Regions from separate parts of the Homo sapiens genome. Here all the other regions are linked to region 2. The links are contacts of gene promoters, found by promoter capture Hi-C in human tissues and cell types (Jung and others, 2019). All regions are on one chromosome and are shown on one strand. Each heading gives the region's core, a stretch centred on a gene start or on the middle of the fragment in contact. The rest is flanking DNA. Distances are from core to core; before and after follow the strand shown. Region 1 holds the start of SMARCD1 (SWI/SNF related BAF chromatin remodeling complex subunit D1). Region 2 holds the start of FAIM2 (Fas apoptotic inhibitory molecule 2). Region 3 overlaps CERS5 (ceramide synthase 5). Region 4 holds the start of COX14 (cytochrome c oxidase assembly factor COX14). Region 5 overlaps TMBIM6 (transmembrane BAX inhibitor motif containing 6).

Region 1 (5,092 bases), core at 1,510-4,009, 180 kb after region 2:
GTATATACTTTCCCAGCCCTGTCTGTCTCCACCCCATCCCCTCTTGTCTCTGAGAACCATTCTCCCACCCCAAGTTCCACCTTCTATGTTTCTACTCCCTCCCTGGTCTCTGAATGCCTTCGCCTGTATAAAGAGTTGGACTCTCTCCCCTGGTGTCTGTACTGTGTACACACATCCCTCTGAGAAGCACAAGGAGACGACACGCGCATTGTAACCTTTGCACTGTCTCAGTGGCGACAAAGGAAGCTGTGAATCACAAGCTCTGCCTCTTTCTGGCCTCACCCTCTCCCCCAACCCGGGCACCCTCGGCCCTCCCTGCAGCCTTAACATTCTCTTCCCCTGCTCCTCCTATCCCATTGCCCTCTGCCCAGCTGACAGTGGCATCCCCAGGGAAGGGGTTGCTGTAGAGATAGCCCCCACCCAGGGGATGGAGGTCTACCCTGGACACTAAGCCAAGTGTGTCAGAGACAGAAGGGAGCTGGGGATTGGCGACTCCTGAAGTTGGGGCAGTGGGATGCTGACAGGCAGAAGCTGAGGTCCTCAGTCAGTGGCCTTTCCTCCTTCTGGGTGCCCAGCCCCCTTTCCTCACCTGATACCCAAGCCCACCACTTTTATTTTCTGGTGAGGTGGGTTTGGGAGGAAAGAGAGGCCTAGAGGAGGAGTTGAAAGCTCTGCTGTTGTCTCACCCTATCTTAATGAGAGACAAGTGAGGTGGAGGGCCTGCCCCCCCTCCCTCCACCAGACACTCCTTCCAGGCCTGAGCCCCAACCCCTCTTCAGGCCTTCCTTCCCTAGCTGTGTCTTGGTCTTCAATCCCAGAACAGGACCTGTGAGCAGCTGCATTGGCCTGGAGCTGGAGAGTAAGGCTGTAGGATCTTTGGAATCTCTTGGTTCCTAAGAGTTTCCTCAGAGATCATACCTCCCCAGAGGGAAGCAGGAATGAGGCCAAAAAGTGTGCATTGGATAGGGGAACAGCAGGCAGGGCTCTGGGTGACGCATGCCTCTGGTCTAATAAACTGGGTTTCAACCATCTCCTCTTCAGTGTTGTTCTCTTATTTGAAAAAGTATTTAGATATTCTCACTAAGTGCCTAAAGCTGAGCTTGGTTTGGGGCCAATTAGGGGATGAGTAAGGAGAAGGTTTGAGTAGGGACACTGTGGTCCCCCTGGGATGGGACAGGCTGACCATTATATCAGGAATAGTTTGAACCACTGGGCAGGGAAAGAGGGAGAAGTCAAAGGCAACAAAGTTCCAAAACAGAATCCCCAATACAAAGGATGCTTTAGAGAGAGAGAGCAGAGTCAAAATTCAAGATAAACTGGAACTTATCATAAAATCTGGAAGCAGGCTGGCACGGTGGCTCATGCCCGTAATCCCAACACTTTGGGAGGCTGAGACAGGTGGATCACTTGCGGCCAGGAGTTCGAGATCAGCCTATGCAACATAGTGAAACCCCCATCCCTATTTTTTTTTTCTTTTTTGAGATGGAGTCTCGCTCTGTCGCCCAGGCTGGAGTGCAGTGGCGCGATCTCGGCTCACTGCAAGCTCCGCCTCCCGGGTTCACACCATTCCCCTGCCTCAGCCTCCCGAGTAGCTGGGACTACAGGCGCCCGCCACCACGCCCGGCTAATTTTTTTGTGTTTTTAGTAGAGACGGGGTTTCACCGTGTTAGCCAGGATGGTCTCGATCTCCTGACCTCATGATCCACCCGCCTGGGCCTCCCAAGTGCTGGGATTACAGGCATGAGCCACCGTGCCCAGCCCCCCATCCCTATTTTTTAATATTTAAAAAAAAAAAAATCTGAGGCCAGGCACAATGGCTCACACCTGTAATCCCAGCATTTTGGGAGGCTGAGGAGCACAGATCGCTTGAGCTCAGGAGTTCGAGACCAACCTGGGCAACATGGCGAAACCCCATCCCTACCAAAAATACAAAACAGTCTGGCATGGTGGTGCATGCCTGTGGTCCCAGCTACTTGGTAGGCTGAGTTGGGAGGATCACTTGAGCCTGGGAGGCGGAGGTTGCAGTGAGCTGAGATGGTGCCACTGCACTCCAGCTTGGGCGAGAGAGAGACAGACCTCATCTAAAAAAAAATAAAAAATAAAAAATAATAATCCGGAAGCAGGTTAGGTCAGAGAGAAAGTTAGGATGAAGTTCCCACGTGAGGTACTTATTGAGGCACTTTATCTGTGGAATGAGTCCCGGGCTATGAGCAAGGGTATCTGGAATCTTGGCTTCGGCTTTATGGCTAACTTGCTGGTTGACCTTTGCCAAGTCATTCACCTGTGAGTTCAGCTTTCCCATTTGTAAAATGGAATAAACTGTGTTTCCCTCCTCAGCCCCTGATAGTTATAGCAGTAAGAAAACGAAACGAAAAGCAGTCAAAGCGTTTTGGAAAGTTAACGCCATGCGCCAAGATGAAGCTATTACTCCAAGCCCCTCTTCATCAGAGGGCTCGAGTTGGGGTTGAGACTGGGGCTGAGGCTGTGGTCCGTCCCCCTTTCCAGGTCCTTGTCTTCCTCCCGTCGGCCTGGGGGCGCCCGCTCACGCGGCCTCTCTATTGCAGAGCTCTTCTCTATGGTTTTCCCTCCCGGACCGTGAAGGCGGGAGGGCGTGGCCAGCACGCCTTTTCCGCTAGTCGCCCCGCTCTATCCCATAGTCTCGCTGCCCTGAGCCTCCCGTGCCGGCCGGCCGGCCGGGGGAACAGGCGGGCGCTCGGGGGGCGCTCGGGGGGCGGGGGGAGTTCCGGTTCCGGTTCTTTGTGCGGCTGCATCGGCGGCTCCGGGAAGATGGCGGCCCGGGCGGGTTTCCAGTCTGTGGCTCCAAGCGGCGGCGCCGGAGCCTCAGGAGGGGCGGGCGCGGCTGCTGCCTTGGGCCCGGGCGGAACTCCGGGGCCTCCTGTGCGAATGGGCCCGGCTCCGGGTCAAGGGCTGTACCGCTCCCCGATGCCCGGAGCGGCCTATCCGGTGAGTGGGGCAGGAGGAGGGGCGCGCGGGCCGGGGGCGGGGCCGAGCGGGGACATGGGAGTGACAGGGGTGGGGGGAGAAGTAGGAGGGACTCCCTTGGGAGGGGTTCGGGCTCTGGGTGGGGGTTGGGGGAGGCAGTGCGCAGAAAGAGAGGGGGAGGCAGTTACACACCTGCTCCTAGGGGCATTGTTTCCCTGGGGAGTCGGTAGAGAACCTGGGTGGGTGAAGTGGGTCCAGGGATACCTGTATGAGGGCCGGAGTGCAAAGGGGCTTGAGCAGCTCCAGTGATCAGAGGAACACAGAACGTGTAGCTGACAAATTGAGGTCAGCTTCTAAAGAGATAGTAGCTAGCAGAGTAAATGTGGAACTGGCGATGTCCGATGTGTCCCATCCAAAATAGACTGAGAATTTGAGTATAATCTGGCTCTCGCTTAGCTTTTGGACTCTGTTTTTCTATGGAGTCACTACTGGAGCAAAGGGTTCTCCTCTCATTGTCCTCCATTCCATCCCTAAACCTTACTTCATTCAAAGATCTCAGGCGTTCCCTGCTTTTCTTTCTTGATGGGGTTTAGCAGGTGAAACCATGACATCTCTGGGTCCTCTCCCCTCTGTAGAGACCAGGTATGTTGCCAGGCAGCCGAATGACACCTCAGGGACCTTCCATGGGACCCCCTGGCTATGGGGGGAACCCTTCAGTCCGACCTGGCCTGGCCCAGTCAGGGATGGATCAGTCCCGCAAGAGACCTGCCCCTCAGCAGATCCAGCAGGTCCAGCAGCAGGCGGTCCAAAATCGAAACCACAAGTAAGATGATCCTGGGGCAGAGGGAGGGAGGGAGGGAGCCTGGGAGGACACAGGTGGTGGGAGTACCTGAACCAAGAAGTGGTGGTGCTGTGTCAGCAGATGGTGCTACAGAACTCATCCTTGAGAATGCTTGGTGGTGGTGGTGGTGGTGGTAGTTCTTTGAGAGAAGCTTTGCAGTCCCTTCACATTACTATAAATGGACGTGCTGACAGCTTATTTTCACGTTCTGACTAGTTCTGTCCCAACCTGATAATAGTATTTATTCCCAACAGTGCAAAGAAAAAGAAGATGGCTGACAAAATTCTACCTCAAAGGGTGAGTCCAGGCTATATGTCTTCTGGAAAGTGTGGTGAGTTTGAGTATAGAGATGATCATCCTAGATTTCAATTAATTTTTCTGTTCCTAAGATTCGTGAACTGGTACCAGAATCCCAGGCCTATATGGATCTCTTGGCTTTTGAAAGGAAACTGGACCAGACTATCATGAGGAAACGGCTAGATATCCAAGAGGCCTTGAAACGTCCCATCAAGGTAACACAGGAAAGTACTAGGCAGAGAGCCAAAGGAGAGGACCCAGGAACCTTCAGCAGAATTAGGATGAGAAATCAAAGGCACAGCACAACTCTCCTTGGCATTTAAATTGCATCTCTCCCTTCCGCCTACAAACTGAGAATTACATTAGGAGGATAAGAACAGAATGGCAAAGGGGGAGGGGCTCTTGATGTCTCTTGCACTACAAATATACCCTTGTCCATGTTTTCGCTGTAACTGCTCTGCTACCTTGGGAACCTGGCACCTTGCATGACTTTGTCCACCTGGCATCCCACTATATGCACTTGTACTTAGGCTGATGGCCAGTACTCCTCTTCTAAATGGAATCTTCATCCACCCACCCAAGGGACTGGGTAGACAGTAAGCCAGTCTGTTAGGAGTAATTTTGGGGTTTGGGGAGACCGTTGTCTTCAACATCAGACCACTGAAGCCCCACGATCAATCCTGTTTCTGCCTTCCTCAGCAAAAACGGAAGCTGCGAATTTTCATTTCTAACACTTTCAATCCGGCTAAGTCAGATGCCGAGGATGGGGAAGGGACGGTGGCTTCCTGGGAGCTTCGGGTAGAAGGACGGCTCCTGGAGGATGTGAGTTCAAGGTCCACAATGGTTGGCATCTAGGGTGGGAGCTGCTGGGAATGAACAGTGTTGTCTGGTCAGCAGGAAGCCTAACTGGTGCTCACAGCTCCTTTTGGGAGCAGTAAGGAGAGGGACACTGTTCCCTGCACTGAAAGACAGTGGTCCTTTGTGTTTGCCCCCACACCTTTGGCCCTCACT
Region 2 (4,889 bases), core at 903-3,402:
ATCACAGAGGAAGAGCGATTCATCCAAGGTCACAGAGCTGCATGTGGCCCACTGAGAGGCAGGGCCTAGGCATCATCCACTGGGATTGATCCTTCTGTTGCGCTGGAAGTGATGCAAGGAGAATGGAGATGGGAGAGAGAAGGGCAACAGAAAGGGAAGAGGAGAGGGAGAAAACAGAAAAGAAGAAGGGCCTTCAGGGTGGAGGAAGGGCAAGAGGATCCAGGCTAAGGGTCTGTTCTGGCCTCATCCTGTAGGAATCTCAGCCTCTCCCCTAAACCAGAACAGACTCACAGAGTGACCCAGTGGAAGGGGCCTCAGAAGACATCCAGTTGAGTCTCTTCCGTCACTGAACAGATGAGGAAACTGAGGCTCAAAGGGAAACGTCCCCATGGCAGGTTGGAAATGCGAGTCCATTTACACTCAGATGTGTCCCCTGCCCCCCACCCGTGGACATGTTTAGCTTTGGTGAGAGGATTTGAGCTGGGAAGGCCTGAATGAGGCAGCCAGAGAAGGAAAGACTGGGGTGGAGGGGGTGGTGTGAAATTGAAACAGCAACAAAAAGCCCGGCTCTCAGAAAATGGGATTTAGGTCTGGTTCCCAGAAGACTGTGTTAGACCTAAAGGGCCACTGAGGAAGACTGCGGACTTCCTTCTTTGCAGGGAGCATCTGGCTGAGGCAGCCTGGAGACAGGCACGCACCAGAAGACTTCTGGTTCCATCCAGGCCCAAGGACCACTGAACTGGAGCGGTCTTCTCCATCCCCCAGCAAGCCTGTGCGTGAGCTGGGGACAAGGGGCAGAGGAGGCAGAGGTCCCCCTCACACCAGGAAGGGAACAGCGCCACTAAAGGGCCTGGTGGAGGCAGGGTGGAGGTGGAAGGAGACTCAGCAGAAGGGGTGAGTTCTCCATGTTTACGGAACTGAACACTCCCCAGGCCTCCCACTGCCTCCCACTCCCCAGCCCCCCTCATCACCCGGATCTGAAGGATCATGTCCACCTAAATCGAGTTCAGCCTCCACCCTGCCACTCCGCCCCCCAGAGCCTCCTGGACCCTAATGCCCAGGCCCCCGACACACATACGGCACTCCCAAGTGAGGTGTGACCAATGGCGGGAGGTGGTATCACCCAGTGACATCATTTGAGGCCCAAAGAGCTTGCATACAGGGAGAGGAGGGTCTGAGGGTCCAGGGAAGGATGTCATTGGCTCTGAAGCTCCTCTCAAAGAGAAGAAGGGGGAGTGTAGGGGAGGTCCTTCCCCTGTTTTCTCTGCCCAATCCTTAGCAACCCAAACAGAGGGCCCGAGTACCCTCCCCCTTAGCCCCAGGCCCTAGTGGTTGTATAATTCCACAGGCTATTGATGTTACATAAGCCTACTAGGCCAGCCGAGTCTCTGCCCCAGCCCCTCCCCTACAATTCAGGCCTAAAACTGGAGAAGAGATGCTTCATCCGGACCCATCCATGCCTGGCCAAAACCAAAACAACAATTAGAGCATCTTGATGCAGAGTTGTCATAGCAAGCCCCAAGCACAGGGATGGAGCCAAGACGCCCAGATGTGGAACAATGGCAGGGAGTAGGGTGGGGGTTGTTTCCGTGGAGGGTGGGAAAGATGAGCATAAAGTGGTTGGGTTTGGGACTGGAGGGTTGGGCCAGAGGGGGTTGCCCGATAGGCACTGCCCCTCAGGGCTCACCCTGGCACACACATACCCATGCACACACATACAGTCACACCAGACGCCCGGGCTGACTCCTCACGGGGGGCCTGGGTATCTGTGAGGAGCCTTGTAATGCTGTAATGCCAAAGCAGGGGTGGCAGGGTGACAGGGGAGGAGAGGCGCGCCTGCGGGCAGGAAGAGGCCTCGGTCCATTCCTTGACACCGGCCTTTCGGTCCTCTGACTTCAGCAAGGACCACGGAGGACCTTCAAACTAGGGCCAGGGGAGGATGCTTTCGTGGTCCAGAGGGCTTGCTGAGGATGACAGGGAGCCGGGAGCCGGAGGATGGAGGATGGTGCAGGCTGGGGAGATGCCGGTACCTTTCCCTGGGTCATGGTGCCGTCTCTCGGGGAAGGGGTCCCTGAGGCCCGGGTGGCCGCTTGGGTAACCGCAGCCTGCCTGCGTCTCTTCCTTCCTCCGCGTGGGTTCTAGCAACATCCACTGCAGCCGGGCCAGGCGAGCCGGCGCGTACCATCGGCGCGGGGGGAGGAGAGGGCCGGGCCTGGGAAGATGCTGCGGAGGACGCTGCGGATTCGCGAGCCCGGGGTAAGGCGGCGGCGCACCGCCCCCTCCCGCCGCTTCCCCCCCACCCCGCCCCCCACCGCCGCCCTTAGCCCTCCCCCGGGATGAGAGAGAGTCGCGCTGCGGAGCAACCCCAGTGGATGGGTCCGCGGGGGCTGAGCGGGCGGAGGACGCGGGAACTCCGTGACACCGACCAGCTGACGCTGCCCGCGTGAAACCAGAGCCGGGCATCAGGGCCTCATCTCCACTGTCTCTGCACCTCTCTGCAGCTCCAGCTGCGCCTCTGCCTTTTCCTCCTCCCTCTTTGGATGCGGCCCTGATTTCTGTCTCCATCTCCACCTCCCCTCTCATCATCTATTTCATCATCCCTGGTAGAGGGGAAGGTCTGGAAGTCTCGCCTGTGCTGCCCGCTTCTAACAGGGCCCCTGGGCCCTGCGCTCCTGTGGGCCTGGGGCAAGCCAATAGCCACCTATCCTTGCTCCTTTTTCTCGCCTGTGAAATGCACACAGTAGGTCCCTCCCTGCCTTGGTTCACAGAGACATGGGGTGGGAGGACACCTCTTCTGTTTCTTTCAGCCCTGCTGGGACATTTCACGGGGTCTTTCTGGAGACACCGCTAGTTCTGTCTCAAAGCCTCTACAACCCCTGCCAGAGCTCTCTTCCTGCCTCCACGCTTAGCTTCCATCACCCCGTCTCCATCTTCCCCCCTTTTCCATTCCTCCCATGCCAGAGCTCGTTCTCCCCGCTTCCCCAGACGTGTCACTGGGACCCAGCCATCATCAGGCCCCGTTTTCTGTAGCTGCTGCAGTGTCACTATGGGGTTTGCAATCTCAAGAGCTGGGATCAAGTCCCAATTTAGTCACCCACTGGCCGCGTGGCCTTGGCAAGGCCCTTAACCTCTCTGAGCTGCAGCTCCTACGAAAAAGAGGCTTAGAACAGAGCTCTGTCCATCCTAGATTGACTGTCAGACGCACAGGTTATGGCCGTAAAAGCACATAAAAGACCAAGAAGTGCTGGAAGTATGTGAGGTATTATTAACTGAGGAGTCTCCTACCAGAATGTCCTGGGCTGCCCCAGAGCGAGCACCCACAAATCTGCCTAAAAGAAGTATCTGAACCTGCTAGGATGGGACGAGAAACTAAGACCTGGGACAGGTGGGGGTGGCCACTTACCTTCTGCTTCCCTCTCACTGCCCAGGGACCCACCTAAAGTCCCTGAGAAAGCAGGGCCCAGGTAGGCAGACAAATTATCAAAGTCTTTTTTTTTTTTTTTTTTTTTTTTTTTACAGAGAAAATCTTGTTCTGTTGCTCAGGCTGGAGTGCAGTGGCACAATCTTGGCTCACTGCAACCTCTGTCTTCCGGGTTCAAGTGATTCTCCTGCCTCAGCCTCCTGAGTAGCTGGGATTACAGGCGCGCACCACCACGCCCGGCTAATTTTGTATTTTTAGTAGAGACAGGGTTTCACCATGTTGGCCAGGCTGGTCTCCAACTCCTGACCTCAAGTGATCCACCCTCCTCAGCCTCCCAAAGTGCTGGGATTACAGGTGTGAGCCACCGTGCCTGGCCTAATTATCAAAGTCTTTATCCCACCCCTTTTTGCCCTTTGTCCCCCACTCCATAACCACCAATTTTGCACAAACACACTTAAGCCTGGGCCTCCGTGTCCAGAGGCTCTCTCAACCCTACAAACCCGAGCTCTTCTTCCAGCAAGCTGTGCCCTGGTCCCCAGCACTGCACCTGGAGCTCTGACCAGCTGGTCCAGGTTCTGGCCTTCCCTCCTTCTCTGCATCTGCATCCTGGAAGTGTTTTCCTTCTCCTGCTTGACAGCTTGAATGCCACCTCCTCCAGGAAGCCTCCTTCCCCCCCTAGTTGGGGTTAGATGCTCCTCTTCTGTAGTTCCCTAGCACCCTGATGTAACGCCTGTCACGTGGCGCTGTGAAGTTTCTTTGACTGACTCCCTGTTACACTCTAAGCTCCTGTAGCAGTTTTGGTGTGAGCTGGACTGAATGCAGTGCCAGGTGTGTGGAATGCACTCCATCAATTGTAGCTAGTAATATTTCCCAGACATGGCACTACGCAGAGCCTGACTTTCATCAGCCTTAGCACTTTCATGTTTGTGAATCACTCCTGTTCCTTCTCTCGCATTCACTCTGCTCCAGCCACACAGGCCTCTTGGCCATTCCTTAGACTGGGCTGAGCATGCGCTTAGCTGAGGCCCTTTGCACTGGCTGTGTCTTGTTTGGAAATTCTACAGATCATTGCGTGGCTCCCTCCCTCACTAACTTCACTACTCTGCTCAGACATTATCTCAGGGGTGGTCTTCCTGATCTTATACAAAGTAGCAGTGCCACCCGCATACCCCCACCCAGCAAATTGGACAGTCCCTTTTTTCTGATTAAGCTTTATGTTTTCTATGTCAATTGTCACCTCTGACATGTTTTGTTTTGTTTTGTTTTGTTCTCTCTCTCTCTCCCATTAGAACGTCAGCTACAGAAGAGGAGGAGTTTGGGGGTGTTGTGTCATTGCTTTACACCTGTGGGTTAAAATAGTGACTGACATGGATGTGGTGGGTTGATAAGTATTTGGTTGAGTAAAGTACAGCATTATACAAAATCCTTATATTCCTCAGACATGTTGACATTGTCAGTGCTATGATGT
Region 3 (5,309 bases), core at 2,477-4,976, 240 kb after region 2:
ATCCCCAGGTGATTCACATGTCCATTAAAATGTGAGAACCACTAATCTACTTCATAAGAATCTTGTAAGTAATTCAGTGAGATAATGTATATGAAAGACCCTGGCACAAAGGAGGTGATTAATAAATGGCAGTTTCCTTACATCAAAAGACCAAGATCTTAATTGGAGGGAAAAGTAGAACTGAGACTAAGCTCTTCCTGCATATAGATATCCTGGATCTTGGATACCTTCCTGCCTAACCAAGAGATTATGGAAATACTTAGATCTTTCAGGAGTCGAGAAGAAAGAAATCAGGAAGCTAGGAAAGGTGAGAAGGAAATCACCTATTAGCACTCTATCGTAGTCTCAGATCTACTAATAAGGCATATAAACTTGGTAAAATCACTTACCTCTTGGGTCTTGGTTTCATCATCTAAAAGAAGAGGTTATATCAAGCAGAGTCCCAAGGATTTAAATTTTTAAAAAGAATAAAAAAGCCGGGCGTGGTGGCTCACGCCTGTAATCCCAGCACTTTGGGAGGCTGAGGCAGGAGGATCACAAGGTCAGGAGTTGGAGACCAGCCTGGTCAACATAGTGAAACCCCGTCTCTACTAAAAATACAAAAAAAAATTATCTGGGCGTGGTGGTGGGCGCCTGTAATCCCAGCTACTTGGGAGGCTGAGGCAGGAGAATTGCTTGAACCCTGGAGGCGGAGGTTGCAGTGAGCCGAGATTGTGCCACTGCACTCCAGCCCAGGCGACAGTGTGAGAATCCGTCTCAAAAAAAAAAAAAAAAAAAAGAAGAAGAATAAAAAATAAAAAGAGGTTATATGAGATGATTTCTAAGATTTTTTTGTATATCTAAGATTCTATGATGTTATCATTGATTGATTATAATTAATTTCCAACTTTTGAATCTTTGAAAATTGAGGAACTATTCCTTGGTTCTTCAAGAAAGATCTCACTCTCCCCCGTAATCAGAGATTTTTAAGAACATCAGCACTAGGAAAACTCTATATTGCCACTTTCAGGATAAGTCAAAACCAGTTTTAGCCCTTAGCATCTTAAGGAGTCCCATAATGAAAATATGACTGGGAGGTGTAAAATGGAGTGCCGTTAACCTATTTTCTTGAGCTGCATTTGAACCTAGAATATATTATCTCTAAAGGAGGGATTGAGAATAAGAAACTTTATCTCCCTCTATGAAAACTTTTTACCTTATCACCAAAGTTCCTGAGCCATAGAGTAATATTTATTCAGAGCATAAATTTAGCCACATCTGTAACACATTCTCTTTTACACCGGTGGGGGGGAAAAAAAAAATAGTTCCATTCAAAGGCCAATGCCAGTGGATACCTTAATTTACATTTACTGGTATACTATTCTGTATACCAATAATATTTAACCCCCAACTCATGTTTAAACTCCTTGTAAACACAAATAGACTGCTTTTATATTTACCAAGGTACTATGCTCAGCAGTTGCTCAGTAACTGACAAGCAACATGTTTTAGTGAAACCCACTCTTGTTGTATTGGAGGTCAATTCTGACCCAAAATTAATCAGCATTCAGAAGAGTAAATGAGGCCGTCATTCTTTGTTGTTGAGTTGATGCCATATCAGAGATAAAAATCATCTAAAAACCCTGTCTCCTCCTTTCTCCTATCGACATAATTGCATGAAAATCCAAAGGCAGAAAACAGCCTTTCCAATTCCTACTCTTACCCCTAACCCAGGCTTCTTTAATCCAGAGGCAGTCAGCTGATTAAAACTCAGATCTGCAGTTAGACAGATTTTACCAGCTGAAAGACCTTGTGACTGTTACATACCCATAGAATGGAGATAATATCTACCTCACAGGGTTATTTTAAAGATAAAATGAAACAATGTATGCCTACACCAATACCTGACACTTAGCAAACATTCATTAAAGAGTAGCTATTATTATTTCACTAGAAACATATTTCAGTCTGGGTACTCTCTGGTACCTCCAGCAGAAAGTGAGAAGCAAGAAATACTCTTTGATATAACAGGTCTATATTCTGCTCACCTCGGTGAAGCCAATTTTAAAATTACTATTATCTGGATCATGGAGTGGACTTAACAATCTAGAATTGTCATTAGCTCACATCCTGCCCTCGTTAGTTCAGAGTTCGGTGAAAAGCATAAAGCTACTCATATCCAGTCAGTTCCAGCTATATGGAGCGTAAGAACATTTGACAGCCGGGCGCAGTGGCTCACGCTTGTAATCCCAGCACTTTGGGAGGCCGAGGTGGGCGGATCACGAGGTCAGGAGATCGAGACCACGGTGAAACCCCGTCTCTACTAAAAATACAAAAAATTAGCCGGGCGTGGTGGCGGGCGCCTGTAATCCCAGCTACTCGGGAGACTGAGGCGGGAGAATGGCATGAACCCGGGAGGCGGAGCTTGCAGTGAGCCGAGATCGCGCCACTGCACTCCAGCCTGGGCGACAAAGTGAGACTCCGTCTCAAAAAAAAAAAAAAAAAAAGAACATTTGACAAATACTTGTTGATTGTTTATTTTGTGCTACAGAATGAAGCTTTATTATATTTTCCAGATGTGATTGGAAAATAATCTTTTCTAATTTGTGATAAAAATTAAATATATAGATTTAGTTATACACAGTTAATGAATTACCTTACTGAAGAAAGTGAAATTATTTGAAATTATAGCTTTTGAGAAAGTATTAATTCTACATCATACAAAAGGTTGGTATTTGGTATAACTTATAAAACAGGTATCTAGGCCAGGCGCGGTGGCTCATGCCTGTAATCCCAGCACTTTGGGAGGCTGAGGCGGGCGGATCACGAGGTCAGGAGTTCGAGACCAGCCTATCCAACATGGTGAAACCCCATCTCTACTAAAAATACAAAAAGTTAGACAGGCGTGGTGGTGTGTGCCTGTAACCCCAGCTACTCAGGAGGCTGAAGCAGGAGAATTGCTTTTACCCAGGAGGCGGAAATTACAATGAGCTGAGATCACGCCATTGCACTCTCTCTGGCCTGGGTAACAGAGCGAGACTCCATCTCCAAAAAAAAAAAAAAAAAAAATAGGTACCTAGGGTGGTCAATTTCCAGAGCCTGGCATTCATCATTTCTGCTACATCAGCATTTCTCAAAGTGTGGTTTAGAGACCCCTGGGGGATCCAGAGACCCTTTCAGTAGGTCTACAAGGTCAAAACTATCTTCAGAATAATTCTATAATTTCATAAAAATCTATTCTCTCTCATGAGAGTACAGTGGAACTTTCCATAAGTTACATGACATATAACAACAGACTGAATGCAGACGCTGACATGAGACTACAGCTGCCAGATATTTTCAAAAATGTTAAAATGCTACTCTTCTCACAGTTTTTTGTTTTGGAAAATAGTTATTTTTCATAAAACGTAATGAGTTCATTGTTATTTATTTATATTGAGACAGGGTCTCACTCTGCCACCCAGGCTGGAGTGCAGTGGTGTGATCACTGCTCACTGCAGCCTTGACTTCCTAAGCTCAAGTGATCCTCCCACCTCAGCCTCTCAAGTAGCTGGGACTACAGGTGTTGGCCATGCCCAGCTAATTAAAAAATTTTTTTTTTTGTAGAGACAGGGTTTCACCATGTTTCCCAGGCCATTGCTATTTTTAAATGAATAAATATGGGCTGGGCACGGTGGCTAATGCCTGTTATCCTAGCACTTTGGGAGACTGAGACAGGTGGATCACTTGAGCCCAGGAGTTTGAGACCAGCCTGGGAAACGTGGTGAAACCCTGTCTCTCCCCAAAACACAAAAGTTAGACAGGTGTGGTAGCTCATGCCTGTGGTCCCAGCAACTTGGGAGGTTGAGGTGGGAGGATCACTTGAGCCTGGGAGGTCGAGGCTGCAGTGGGCTGTGATTGCGCCACTGCACTTCAGCCTGTGTGATAGAGCCAGATCCTGTCTCAAAAATAAATAGGCTGTATGCGGTGGCTCATGCCTGTAATCCCAGCACTTCGGGAGTCTGAGGTGGGCAGACTGCTTGAGCTCAGGAGTTCAAGACCAGGCTGGCCAACATGGTGAAACCCCATCTCTACCAAAAAATACAAAAATTAGCCAGGCATGGCGGCACATACCTGTAGTCCCAGCTGCTCAGGAGGCTGAGGTGAGAGGATCTCTTGAACTCGGGAGACAGAGGTTGCAGTGAGCTGAGATCTCACCACTGCACTCCAGTCTGGGCGACAAAGCAGACTCTGTCTCAATAATAAATAAATAAATAGGCCGGGCGTGGTGACTCAGACTTGTAATACCGGCACTTTGGGAGGTTGAGGCAGGCTGATCACTTGAGGTCAGGAGTTTGAAACCAGCCTGGCCAACATGGCGAAATGCCATCTTCTACTAAAAATACAACAACAAAAAATTAGCCGGGCATGGTCGTGCACACCTGTATTCCCAACTACTCAGGTGGCTAAGGCAGGAGAATTGCTTGAACCCGGGAAGCGAAGGTTGCAGTGAGCCAAGATTGCGCTACTGCACTCCAGTTGGGGTGACGGAGCGAGACTCCATCTCAAAAAAAAAAAAAAAAAAAAAAAATATATATATATATATATATGTGTGTGTGTGTGTGTGTGTGTGCGTGTAGACATTTTATACATGTATAAATACATGTAGAAAACATGTACATTTTCCCCATTTTTTTTCTAAAACAGTAGACATTGATAGGTACTATCCACATAAACAAAAACTCTTTGGGATCCTTGAAAATTTTTTAAGATTGTAAAGGAGTCCTGAGATCATAGTTTGAAAACTGCTGTGCTAGATGATACTGACAAATTATACTTTTAGTGTGGCTTTCTGTCTTCTCCAGGATCAATCCACATTTTAAAATAATTTGTCAGACAAGATTTTTCCTTTCCTGGCAGATTTTAGTAAGTAGGCATTTAGTGGTCTATAAAAAGAAGCTACTACTTTCCACCTGTAACTCCAGGAACACGAGTCTAGTGACCCATCCTGACAGTATTAGATTTGTCCTGCTTTGTAGAGATCATTTCACTCTGCCCTTTTCCTGCTCTCCAGATACATAGCAGCAGTTGACCTAAGCCTGGGTTAATTAGGATGAAATTACCTAGTGCTTTCGCTTTTTCCTATCAAAGACAGGATGTATATTCACAATGCTACTTTTGTGATTCATTACACCACTGATGAATATGAATTATACACAAATAAAACCAAAGTCTAGATTAAGCTTCTCAACTATTGTGGCAAGTAACACAAATGGGCTATACTTATGCTGAGATATTGATTTTAGCTCTCAGGGTGATCCATGGGGCCTTCGGGTAGCCAGAAACCTTTA
Region 4 (4,806 bases), core at 1,404-3,903, 210 kb after region 2:
TACCTAGTCACCAGGATCTCCAGGACTCCCAGGGAGCAGAGTCTTCTCATCTTTTCACTGGAGGACAGGAGGCTATGGGGCCCAGCTACGCACCTGGAGATCCTGAACTGTCAAGCCACTGGCAGCCTCATGCCACCACATTTGCCAGAAATGCAGTTGCCCTGTCCCTCTCCAGATGTGGGGCTTTCTCCATATCCTCTGGGAGGGGTGGAATCAAGCCCCAGTGCTGCCTGCTTGGTGGCGGGGGTGATGTATGTGGAGAAGGGTTGGGGGAGAGGCCGGTAGGGCAGGGGCTGCTAGTGGCTGTCTCACATACACCAGTAATCCTGTTAAAGGGCTGAAGAAGTATCTTAGCCACAGGAGCGATGAGGCAAGGATTGTCAGGGAGGGGTCTGGGCTTCTGAGCTGATGCAGGCCCCAAGGACCCCTTTGCTGACCTCTGCCAGGACCCACACAGCTTCGATGGATCTCAGTGTTTGTTAACAAAATACAAAGATCTCAAACAAACCCCTTTTAGCTTCTCCTAGCAACATCTGTGTCCTCAGAAACCTCTGGTTCTCCCCCTTCCCCCTCCCCCAGGCTGCCCTGGCACCCAAATTGCTGCCATGCTGGCATCTGTAGCTCGGTGGCTTGACATTCTCCCCAGGGACTTCCCGGTTCCTAGTTCTTTGCCAGCTCCTCCCCACTCTGTGCGACCTTTCCAAGCCTTCCCTCACCCTCCCCGCCAGCACCCTCTTTGGGGAGCAGGAACTTAATCTGCTGACAGAGCTACACCTTTCATAACAGGCTCAGATCACTCAGCTCCCTGTGACCTTTGTATTCACCCAGGCTTCCTTCTCAGTAGCTCTAGCTGGGGGAGGTGTCAGCTGGGCCCCTCCTGTGCTATCTCCCCAGAGGACATCCCTGACTCCACCCCTTTCTTCCTCCCAAACTCTGCACCTCTTCCTCAGCTGCTCCAGACCGGCCAGGGTAACCAGCTAACCATGCCTGGCATCTGGAAGCCAGCAGGCCAGAGGGTGGCCCAAAGGCTGATGAACGGTAGGGAAGGGTGAGCAGATTCCTATGTTGGTGGGCACCAATATTCCAAGGGCAGCTCTCTTTGCTGAATGAGGGCCTTCTCGTGAGGTACTGACAACACCAGCAACTCGAGAGCTGGGAAACTCAAGGAGGAGGAAGAAAATCAAAACCACCCTACTCCCTGGGGTGAGGAAAGAACAGGAGGGGAGGAGGAGGAGTGTGCTCTGCACTTGCCTTGCTCCAGGATGGGGTGGCAGCAGAGGAATGTCACAGGTCAGCAGCCTAGGCCTCCAGCTATAAATAGTCCGGAGGGCCCGAGAGGCTCCCGCCCGTCCAGCAGGGCTGTCAGCTTCCTGTGTGGCAGCACCTGGCACACTGGCTCTGGCCAGCATTATGCTAAAACCCTGTTACTCTCCAATGAACCAGGGAGGCGGGCTCCTCTCTGCGCCTATCCCTTGAGAATTCTGTCTTACCAGTGAAGGGTGGGGCTGCCCAGATCAGGCAGCAGGAGTGAGGGGCACAGTCACCCCAGGCCTTGCTGAGCCCAGGTCTGGGTACTGAGTGTCCAGAGCTGCCTCCCCAGGAGGTTAAGGTGGGGGCAAAGGGGAAGCTTCAAGCACTTTGCCTACTTTTGTTCACTCCCCAGTGCACTGTGACTCAGGCCTTCCCATCAGGCCTATTTGTCTACCCAATAAAGCGTGTTTTTTCCAGAAACAAGAAGAGTTGGGAGAGGGAGCTTCAGTGCATGTGGCAGTGCGTGTGCTGGCGCGTATCATTGCACGTATGTTTTCCCTCTTACCGTAGGAAAAATGAAAAAAGAAATCCCTCCTCCATAATCGCAGCTACTCCAGGGGTCAGCGGCGGTGCCCACTCAGTCCCCATCCCTCTCTCTCCCCTCCCGCCAGCGCCCCCTCCCGCCCTCGCCGCAAGCTGGCCCCGGCCTTGCCGGCCCTTCTTAGGGGCTTTATCATGCCTCCTGCAAGAATAGAGATCACACACGGGACGGAAACGTTAGACTCTCATCCCTTGTGCCCATTCCTTGGTCACGGGCCAAGCTGCCGCATCCTTAGCGGTCCAGGCATCGCGGTGCCCCTCGGGCCCCTACCTGGACTAGGCCCACAGCCGGGCTCTAGGGGGCGCGCGATCCACCTCCAGAAGGCCGGCTGCGAAAATCTACCCAGCTACTGGCGACGTCACCGCACCGTAGGCTGAGGATTGGCTGACTCTGATTTAGCATCCTAAAACTTCCGGTTCCAGAGCTTGGCTCGCCAAAGACCCTCCCTCGAGGGAGAGAAACCACAGCCCCCAGAATTCAGCGGGCCTCTCCGAGAGCACGGCGCGTCTGAGGATGCGTAGTAAGGATAACGGGCCCGGAAGCCGGAAGTTCAAAGCCGGCCTCCAGCCAGAGTGACGGCCTGCGCGGACTCCCGCCTTAGTGGGCGGAGTTGTGCCGCGTCTGATGCGCAGTTCCCTTTATAGCGCGGCAAGCCGAATCCTAGAGGCTAACCCGGCAGGTGGGAGGGAGAAAGTTGCTTTCTGCACCAATAGCTGAGGCGTTCAGGGTTGTCCAGGGACGCTACCCTCACGTGTCTGGTTCCGAGTGCTGCGTTCGGCTGTGCTGGGAAGTTGCGTAGACAGTGGCCTCGAGACCCTGCCTGCCTGAGGAGGCCTCGGTTGGATGCGAAGGAGCTGCAGCATCCAGGTACGCTGCCGGCTAGGGCCGAGCAGGGGCTGCCAGTCCCACTGCCTGCGCGCCCACCTGGGCCAGTCTCCGCTTGCCGCGTCCTCCCATCCCCTAGTCTGCAGGCCTGGTGCCCTTGAATTCACCCGCTTCTGTTGCGTTGCGGACCGCGAGCTGCACTGCTTCCTGCCCAAGCCCAAGCTCCTCGCAGCAGTAGGTCAGTCTTGCTAGAGCTCAGCGCTAATCCTGTCAAACCTCGACTCCTGCCTGGCGTCTCGACCCTCCACGCTCCAACTCTGCCTCTTCCTTGCTCTATAGACCTCTGCGTCCTGATAAGTGGCTCTCCGGGGCACCCTTCGTGCATATCGGCTATCCAGCTCCACCTCTTGACCGCTTTCACTTCCTGGAATGCTCTCACTGCTCCTCTTCTCCAGGCCATCCTTCTAAAAAGACAGTTCCACTCCCACCCCGATTCCCACCCCTACACCTTTCTGCTAAGTTTTCTCAAGCCCCCACCCTGTCTTTGAGCTGTTGTCTCTGAACTCTCACAGTGCCTCTCCATGAGACCATAAGCTCCTGTATGACAGAAGCCATGTTCTTTTTAGCGGCCTCCGTAGCATGATGTACGTTATGTTATGTTATGTTATGTTATGTTATGTTATGTTATTTTGAGACAGGGTCTTGCTTTGTCGCTCAGGCTGCAGGTGTGCGCCACCACGCCCGGGTAATTTTTAAAAAAAGGTTTTTTTTTTGTTGTTGTTGTTGTTGTTTTTAAATAGAGAAAAGGTCTCCCTATGTTGCCCAACCTGGTCTCCAACTCCTGAGCTCAAGCCATCCTCCCGCCTCGGCCTCCCAAAGTGTTGGGATTACCGGCGTGAGCCACCGTACCCGGCCGATGTACTACTCTCTAAGTGCCAAACAAAAAGTAGATAAAAGATGATGGATACCTTAAAAGCCCTGAGTTGACCACTATGCAGTGTATGCATGTAACAAAATCGCACTTCTACCCATACGTTTACGCAATTTTTTTTTTTTTTTTTTGAGACGGAGTCTTGCTCTGTCGCCCAGGCTGGGGTCCCGTGGCGGGATCTCGGCTCACTACAAGCTCCGCCTTCCGGGTTCATGCCATTCTCCTGCCTCAGCCTCCAGAGTAGCTGGGACTACAGGTGCCCGCCACCACGCCCGGCTAATTTTTTGTGTTTTTAGTAGAGATGGGGTTTCACTGTGTTAGCCAGGATGGTCTCGATATCCTGACCTCGTGATCCACCCGCCTCGGCCTCCCAAAGTGCTGGGATTACAGGCGTGAGCCACTGTACCCGGCCGTTATTTTATTTATTTATTTATTTGTTTGTTATTTTATTTATTTTTTTGAGACGGAGTCTCGCCCTGTCGCCCAGGCTGGAGTACAGTGGCGCGATCTCGGCTCACTGCAACCTCCGCCTCCCGGGTTCAAATGATTCTCCTGTCTCAGCCTCCTGAGTAGCTGGGATTACAGGCATGTGCCACCATGCCTGGCTAATTTTTGTATTTTTAGTCAAGACAGGGTTTTATCATATTGGCCAAGATGGTCTCGAACTCCTGACCTCAGGTTATCAGCCCACTTCTGCCTCCCAAAGTACTGAGATTACAGGTGGCTCACGCCCAGCCTTTTTTTTTTCTTTATTATCATTATTATTATTATTTTTAGAGACACAGTCTTGCTCTGCAAGTGCAGGGCCGTGATCACAGCTCACTGCAGCCCCAAACTCGTTGGCTCAGGCAAGCCTCCCACCCAAACCTCCCTAGTAGCTGGGACTGCAGGTGCATGTCACCACACCCAGCTATGGTTCTCAATTTTTATTCTAGCCTAACACACTGGAAAGATACAGTACACCTCCATCAGTGGCAGTGACTTGATTCAGCAGTGGTTTTCAACCAGGAAGGGGGATGTAGTTAAATGAAAAAAAAAAAAAAAAAAACAGGTGTTTCTGGAATTTTTTTTTTTTTGAGGGGTGGAGTTTCACTCGTTGCCCAGGCTGGAGTGCAGTGGCGCGATCTCAGCTCACCACAACCTCCGCCTCCTGGATTCAAGCGATTCTCCTGCCTCAGCCTCCTGAGTAGCTGGGATT
Region 5 (4,698 bases), core at 1,497-3,996, 160 kb before region 2:
TTTTGAGACAGAGTCTCACTCTGTCGCCCAGGCTGGAGTGCAGTGGTGCAATCTCGGCTCACTGCAACCTCCGCCTCCTGGGTTCAAGCCATTCTCCTGCCTCAGCCTCCCAAGTAGCTGGGATTATAGGCGCCCACCACCACGCCTGGCTAATTTTTTGTATTTTTAGTAGAGATGGGGTTTCATTGTGTTGGCTGGGCTGGTCTCGAACTCCTGACCTCAAGTGATCCGCCTGCCTCAGCCTCCCAAAGTGCTGGGATTACAGGCTAAAACTAGACTTTTAAAAGAGAATAATCTACTGAAGATATTGTAGTAATGAGTACACCAGTAATAACAATGTTAGTACACCAGTAATAACAATGGTTACCATGTATTGAACTCATTCTATGTACAAAGAGCTATTTTAAGAACTTTATTTGTATTATCTCACCTAATCTGCAACCTTAGGAAATAAGGATTGTTATGTACTAGTATTTTACACATGGTAGGTGAAACTGAAGTACAGTGAGGTTAAGTGCCAGCAGCTTGCTGCATGTCCCACTGCTAAGGAAATAACTAGGATTCAGAAGTAGCAGGCAGTCTTAACCACTATGCAGGGGACATGGTTATACAGTGTATGAACATTACTCAGTAGTAAAAACTAATGAATGGAAAGCTTTCTTGGCCAAAAACACAGAAGAAGAAGAAGAAGAAGAAAAAAAACTACTGACAAATTACTAACAGTTCTTCCCCCTCCTTTTTTTGTTTTTGTTTTTTTGAGACAGAGTCTGGCTCTGTCACCCAGGCTGGAGTGCAGTAGCGCAATCTCGGCTCACTGCAAACTCTGCCTCCTGGGTTCAAACGATTTTCCTTCCCTAGCCTCCTGAGTAGCTGGGATTACAGGCGCCCACCACCACATCTGGCTGATTTTTGTATTTTTTTACTAGAGACTGGGTGTCACCATGTTGGCCAGGTTGGTCTCGATCTCGTGACCTCAGGTGATCCACCCACTTAGGCATCCCAAAGTGCTGGGATTACAGGCATGAGCCACCGTGCCCAGCCCTTTCCCCTCTTTTAAACTATATGGGATTTTTCTTCTAAGTATCAATTTGGTCCCTTCTAGATATGTGGGAACAAGGTTCAGGATGGTTGAATTTATACAACAGGAAGAAAGAACCATGTAATTGACAAACTAATTTTTTTGTTTTAATTTTATAAAACGGTTTTGCTGTGTTGCCCAGGCTGGGGTGCAGTGACACATTTTTGCTCTGTTACCAGGCTGGAGTGAAGCAACATGATGATGGCTCACTGCAGCCTGAAATTCCTGGGCTCAAGCAATTCTCCTTCCTCAGCCTCCCAAGTAGTTGGGACAACAGGCGCACACCACCACACCCAGCTAATTTTTTAATTGTTTGCAGAGATGAGGTTTTGCTGTGTTGCCCAGGTTGGTCTGGAACTCCTGGGCTCAAGCGACCCTCCCACCTTGGCTTCCCAAAGTGCTGGGCTCACAGGTGTGAGACATTGTGCATGGCCTTTTTCCTTTTTTGTTTTTTGGAAGTGAACATAACCTTGAGACTTTATTGTCTTCATAATAAAACATAAACTGATATTTAATTAAATGTGCGAACAGTGTTTCTTTGACTTGCTGTTTTAATGTTGCTGTACACACTGAGGCAAAGTCTGTCTTGGCTCCAGCATTGCATAGAACGCATACTAAATCCACGATAGTTTTGTTTTGCATAGCTTTTGGCTACTTCAGCATGTTTCATGTTCACTGTAGCTCCTAGGTGTGTGGGAATAGGACTGAAGAGAATGGTTGTGTTTTTTTTAATTTTTAAATTTTTTTTACACGTAGTCTCGCACTGTCACCCATGGTGGAGGGCAATGGCGTGATCTCAGTTCACTGCAACCTCCGCTTCCCTGGCTCAAGCGATTCTCCTGCCTCAGCCTCCTGAGTAGCTGGGACTATAGGTGCCCGCCATCACGCCCAGCTAATTTTTGTATTTTTAGTAGAGACAGGGTTTCACCATGTTGGCCAGGCTGGTCTCCAACTCCTGACCTCATGATCTGCTTGCCTTTGCCTCCCAAAGTGCTGGGATTACAGGCGTGAGCCACCGCACCCAGCCTGTTTTTTTTTTGTTTTGTTTTGTTTTGTTTTTAATTTAAGGCTGGACCCTTGATAATAGTCTTTCATTTTAGGACAAGGGTAAGGGAGATACCTAGAACAAAACAAGGCATTTAACATGACCTAGATGTCCACTGCTAAGAATGCCTGTCTCCTCCTACCAGCCCCTGCTGTCCCTGTCTTCCCAAGCAAAAGCAGACCACAGGAATATCTAACTCAAACAATTGTGTTTACTTGAGTTTTTTCTTGGGAGAGCTATGTATTAAGCTCTTAGCTTTTTGTTTTTGCATGGCTCTGGCAGAGGAGGCTGGTCAGGGATACCACAGAATGATGACACTTCAGCAAAACTTTAGCAGTATGTGCATGACATGTTGACAGCTTCTGACAGGTTTTCCTCTCCTGGGATGAAGGCATAACAGGAGGCTCTGAATGAAATTAGAGGAATTTGGTTATGATTAACACCTGAACATTTACTTTTCAGTTACAAACGCAGTATAGGCAGATTTTCCACAACTCCAGGAGGCACTATCCACATTGTATTCTATGTAAATAACCCCTCCTCTTTATTTTAGAATTGAATTAGTAAGTAATAGGCTTAGAGGTGTGAAAGGACTGCTGTATTGAATTTTTTAGCAGCTTGTAATGTACTTTTTTTCTTTATTGTGGTAAACTATAACATTTTAATGTGTTTTTTTAAAACAAAGATTTTCATTTAACTGTGGGCTCCTCTGGAATGTTAGCGAGTTACTTGGTTAATGGTACTGAATATAATACTTCAAGCTCTTAAGAGCTGATTGCTCCTAGAATGGAAAATACTTGATATGAGAGCTGCTATTTTTGAGTTAAGTGCAACTTAATCTTGTTTGGCTGAGTTTGCATATCGGCCATTGAAATGTAGGTATCTTTTCTGAGCTTCGCTAGTTGAAGCTAAGATTGAAACTTGGTAAGTTTATTTTATCTGGCAAAACTTGTCAGAACAGTTTGATCTCATTACTTATCTGTATATTCTTGTCTATTTGGAACAGCTCTAGAGCAAACTATCATATTTCTTTGATTCTAAGACCTATGTATTCCCTCTCACATTTTAACATTTCTGAAATTGTCATCTGTACATTGTGTCATATACATTAAATGTATACAGATGCTCCTCAAGACGGGGCTGCATCTGGAAAACCCCATCATAAGTTGAAAATACCGTAAGTTGAAAATGTAAGTCCTTTTCTTTTTGTAAGTCATTTTTGTTTTTTTTTGAAACGGAGTCTCGCTGTGTTGCCCAAGCTGGAGTACAGTGGTGTGATCTCGGCTTACTGCAACCTCCACCTCCTGGATTCAAGTGATTCTCCTGCCTCAGCCTCCCAAGTAGCTGGGACTACAGGGGCGTGCCTCTATGCCCAGATAATTTTTGTATTTTTTGTAGAGACAGGGTTTCGCCGTGTTGGCCAGACTGGTCTCGAACTCCTGACGTCAAAGTGATCCACCTGCCTCGGCCTCCCAAAGTACTGGGATTACAGGCGTGAGCCACTGTGCCCAACCTGTAAGTCATTTTTGAGTCAACGATATTTTTAATTTACAATGGGTGTATCCAGATGTAAGCCATCGCAAATCAAGGAGTGTACCGAATGAGTATCAATTTCTCCCAGTGATAGGTCAACCCTGGTAAGTCAGGGACCATCTGCTTTACCAGGTTTCTTTTTTTTCTCCATAAAGCTAATAAAATTGCTGTGCCCTTTTGCGTCTATAATATTTGGTAGTTACATGTTTTGTTTTAAATTTTGAAATACTGATATTGAAAAACAGAAGTTTTAGTTATTTTTTAATGATTTCAAACCACAAGCTTCTATTAAATCAAAGTGAAATTGCCGTTTGACATCTCATCCCCCTGCCCCAACCCACACAGCCTTTGATGGTTTTGGTTTTTCCATCAACAGTTGTTAAGAGAGAACCAGAAAGAGGCAGTCAGTACCCCCTGGGAAACGTCAGAGAAGTATCTGAGAAAGGGGAGTTTCTGCCATTCTCCCCTCGAACAGATTCCGCCAAGCAGGGTCTGGTTACATGAGCATTGCCTCTTTCTTAGAATCCCCTGGGCGTTTGAGGATCCACCCCGCTCCATCCCTTACCTTTCTTTAATTCTTGTAATTGGAAGCAAGAGGTTCTTTAGCATTGCTGTTGTGAATACTGAGAAACTTGGCTCTGAAAGTTGCTTCAGTATTATTGTAAGTGCTGTCTAGGGATGTCATTAGGGGTGTTAATGGGAAACCTTAAACAAAGACACTTTCCAGGTGCTGAATTCTGCCATGCTGTAAGTGTGCTCTCTAGAGGACATAGTCATATTCATCTTGGTTATGGAAGGCTGTGGTTGGCCTTGTAACAACCTGCAATAATTGCACCATCTAGATCAAGAGGGCCCAGATCCGTGTGACTCAGAGGAGAGAGCAACAACCTTAGTAGGTTCTGCAGCTTCTCACTGTATCTGTCCTTAAGAACAGAATTAACAAAAGTTCTGAGGTGAGTAGTGATGTTAATGAGAGAAGGAAAGAAGAAACCAGAGAAAGCAAGCCAGCCATTGTGATTGTTTCATTTGTGGGAGAGAGCCT

The links. The method cuts DNA at HindIII sites, captures the fragments that hold promoters and counts their contacts. A contact is called where the count stands out against the background at its distance.
Region 1: the fragment with the promoter of SMARCD1 here is called in contact with the fragment with the promoter of FAIM2 in region 2 in 1 of the 25 tissues and cell types used here (adrenal gland).
Region 3: a contact is called between a fragment that was not itself captured here and the fragment with the promoter of FAIM2 in region 2, in 2 of the 25 tissues and cell types used here (dorsolateral prefrontal cortex and hippocampus).
Region 4: the fragment with the promoter of COX14 here is called in contact with the fragment with the promoter of FAIM2 in region 2 in 1 of the 25 tissues and cell types used here (hippocampus).
Region 5: a fragment that was not itself captured here is called in contact with the fragment with the promoter of FAIM2 in region 2 in 2 of the 25 tissues and cell types used here (adrenal gland and mesenchymal stem cells).

Annotation. Positions count from the first base shown.
Region 1 is chr12:50,082,583-50,087,674 of GRCh38, forward strand. It overlaps SMARCD1 (SWI/SNF related BAF chromatin remodeling complex subunit D1), which reads left to right and starts at 2,760. Exons shown (of 13, transcript NM_003076.5): 1 at 2,760-2,964; 2 at 3,579-3,766; 3 at 4,039-4,081; 4 at 4,174-4,296; 5 at 4,781-4,903. The coding sequence starts at 2,788. ASIC1 (acid sensing ion channel subunit 1) reads left to right here. Exons shown (of 12, transcript NM_001095.4): 12 at 1-1,029. RefSeq lists enhancers at 1,253-1,985, 2,343-2,602, 3,452-4,183 and a silencer at 2,673-3,112. The HindIII fragment of the contact is 20,407 bases long and covers 1-5,092 here.
Region 2 is chr12:49,901,748-49,906,636 of GRCh38, forward strand. FAIM2 (Fas apoptotic inhibitory molecule 2) reads right to left here and starts at 2,153. Exons shown (of 12, transcript NM_012306.4): 1 at 2,031-2,153. The coding sequence starts at 2,045. The HindIII fragment of the contact is 14,088 bases long and covers 1-4,889 here.
Region 3 is chr12:50,144,380-50,149,688 of GRCh38, forward strand. All of the region lies in intron 1 of CERS5 (ceramide synthase 5), which reads right to left. The region is part of intron 1 of LOC124902931 (a long non-coding RNA gene); the gene reads left to right. Among named protein-coding and RNA genes, the nearest start is that of CERS5, 20 kb to the right of the region's middle. The HindIII fragment of the contact is 4,983 bases long and covers 1,236-5,309 here.
Region 4 is chr12:50,109,583-50,114,388 of GRCh38, forward strand. COX14 (cytochrome c oxidase assembly factor COX14) reads left to right here and starts at 2,654. Exons shown (of 2, transcript NM_032901.4): 1 at 2,654-2,719. It overlaps GPD1 (glycerol-3-phosphate dehydrogenase 1), which reads left to right. Exons shown (of 8, transcript NM_005276.4): 8 at 1-1,731. RefSeq lists enhancers at 2,094-2,143, 2,204-2,463, 2,684-2,923, 2,934-2,983. The HindIII fragment of the contact is 18,391 bases long and covers 363-4,806 here.
Region 5 is chr12:49,746,097-49,750,794 of GRCh38, forward strand. The region is part of intron 1 of TMBIM6 (transmembrane BAX inhibitor motif containing 6); the gene reads left to right. Among named protein-coding and RNA genes, the nearest start is that of TMBIM6, 6.9 kb to the left of the region's middle. The HindIII fragment of the contact is 5,733 bases long and covers 1-4,698 here.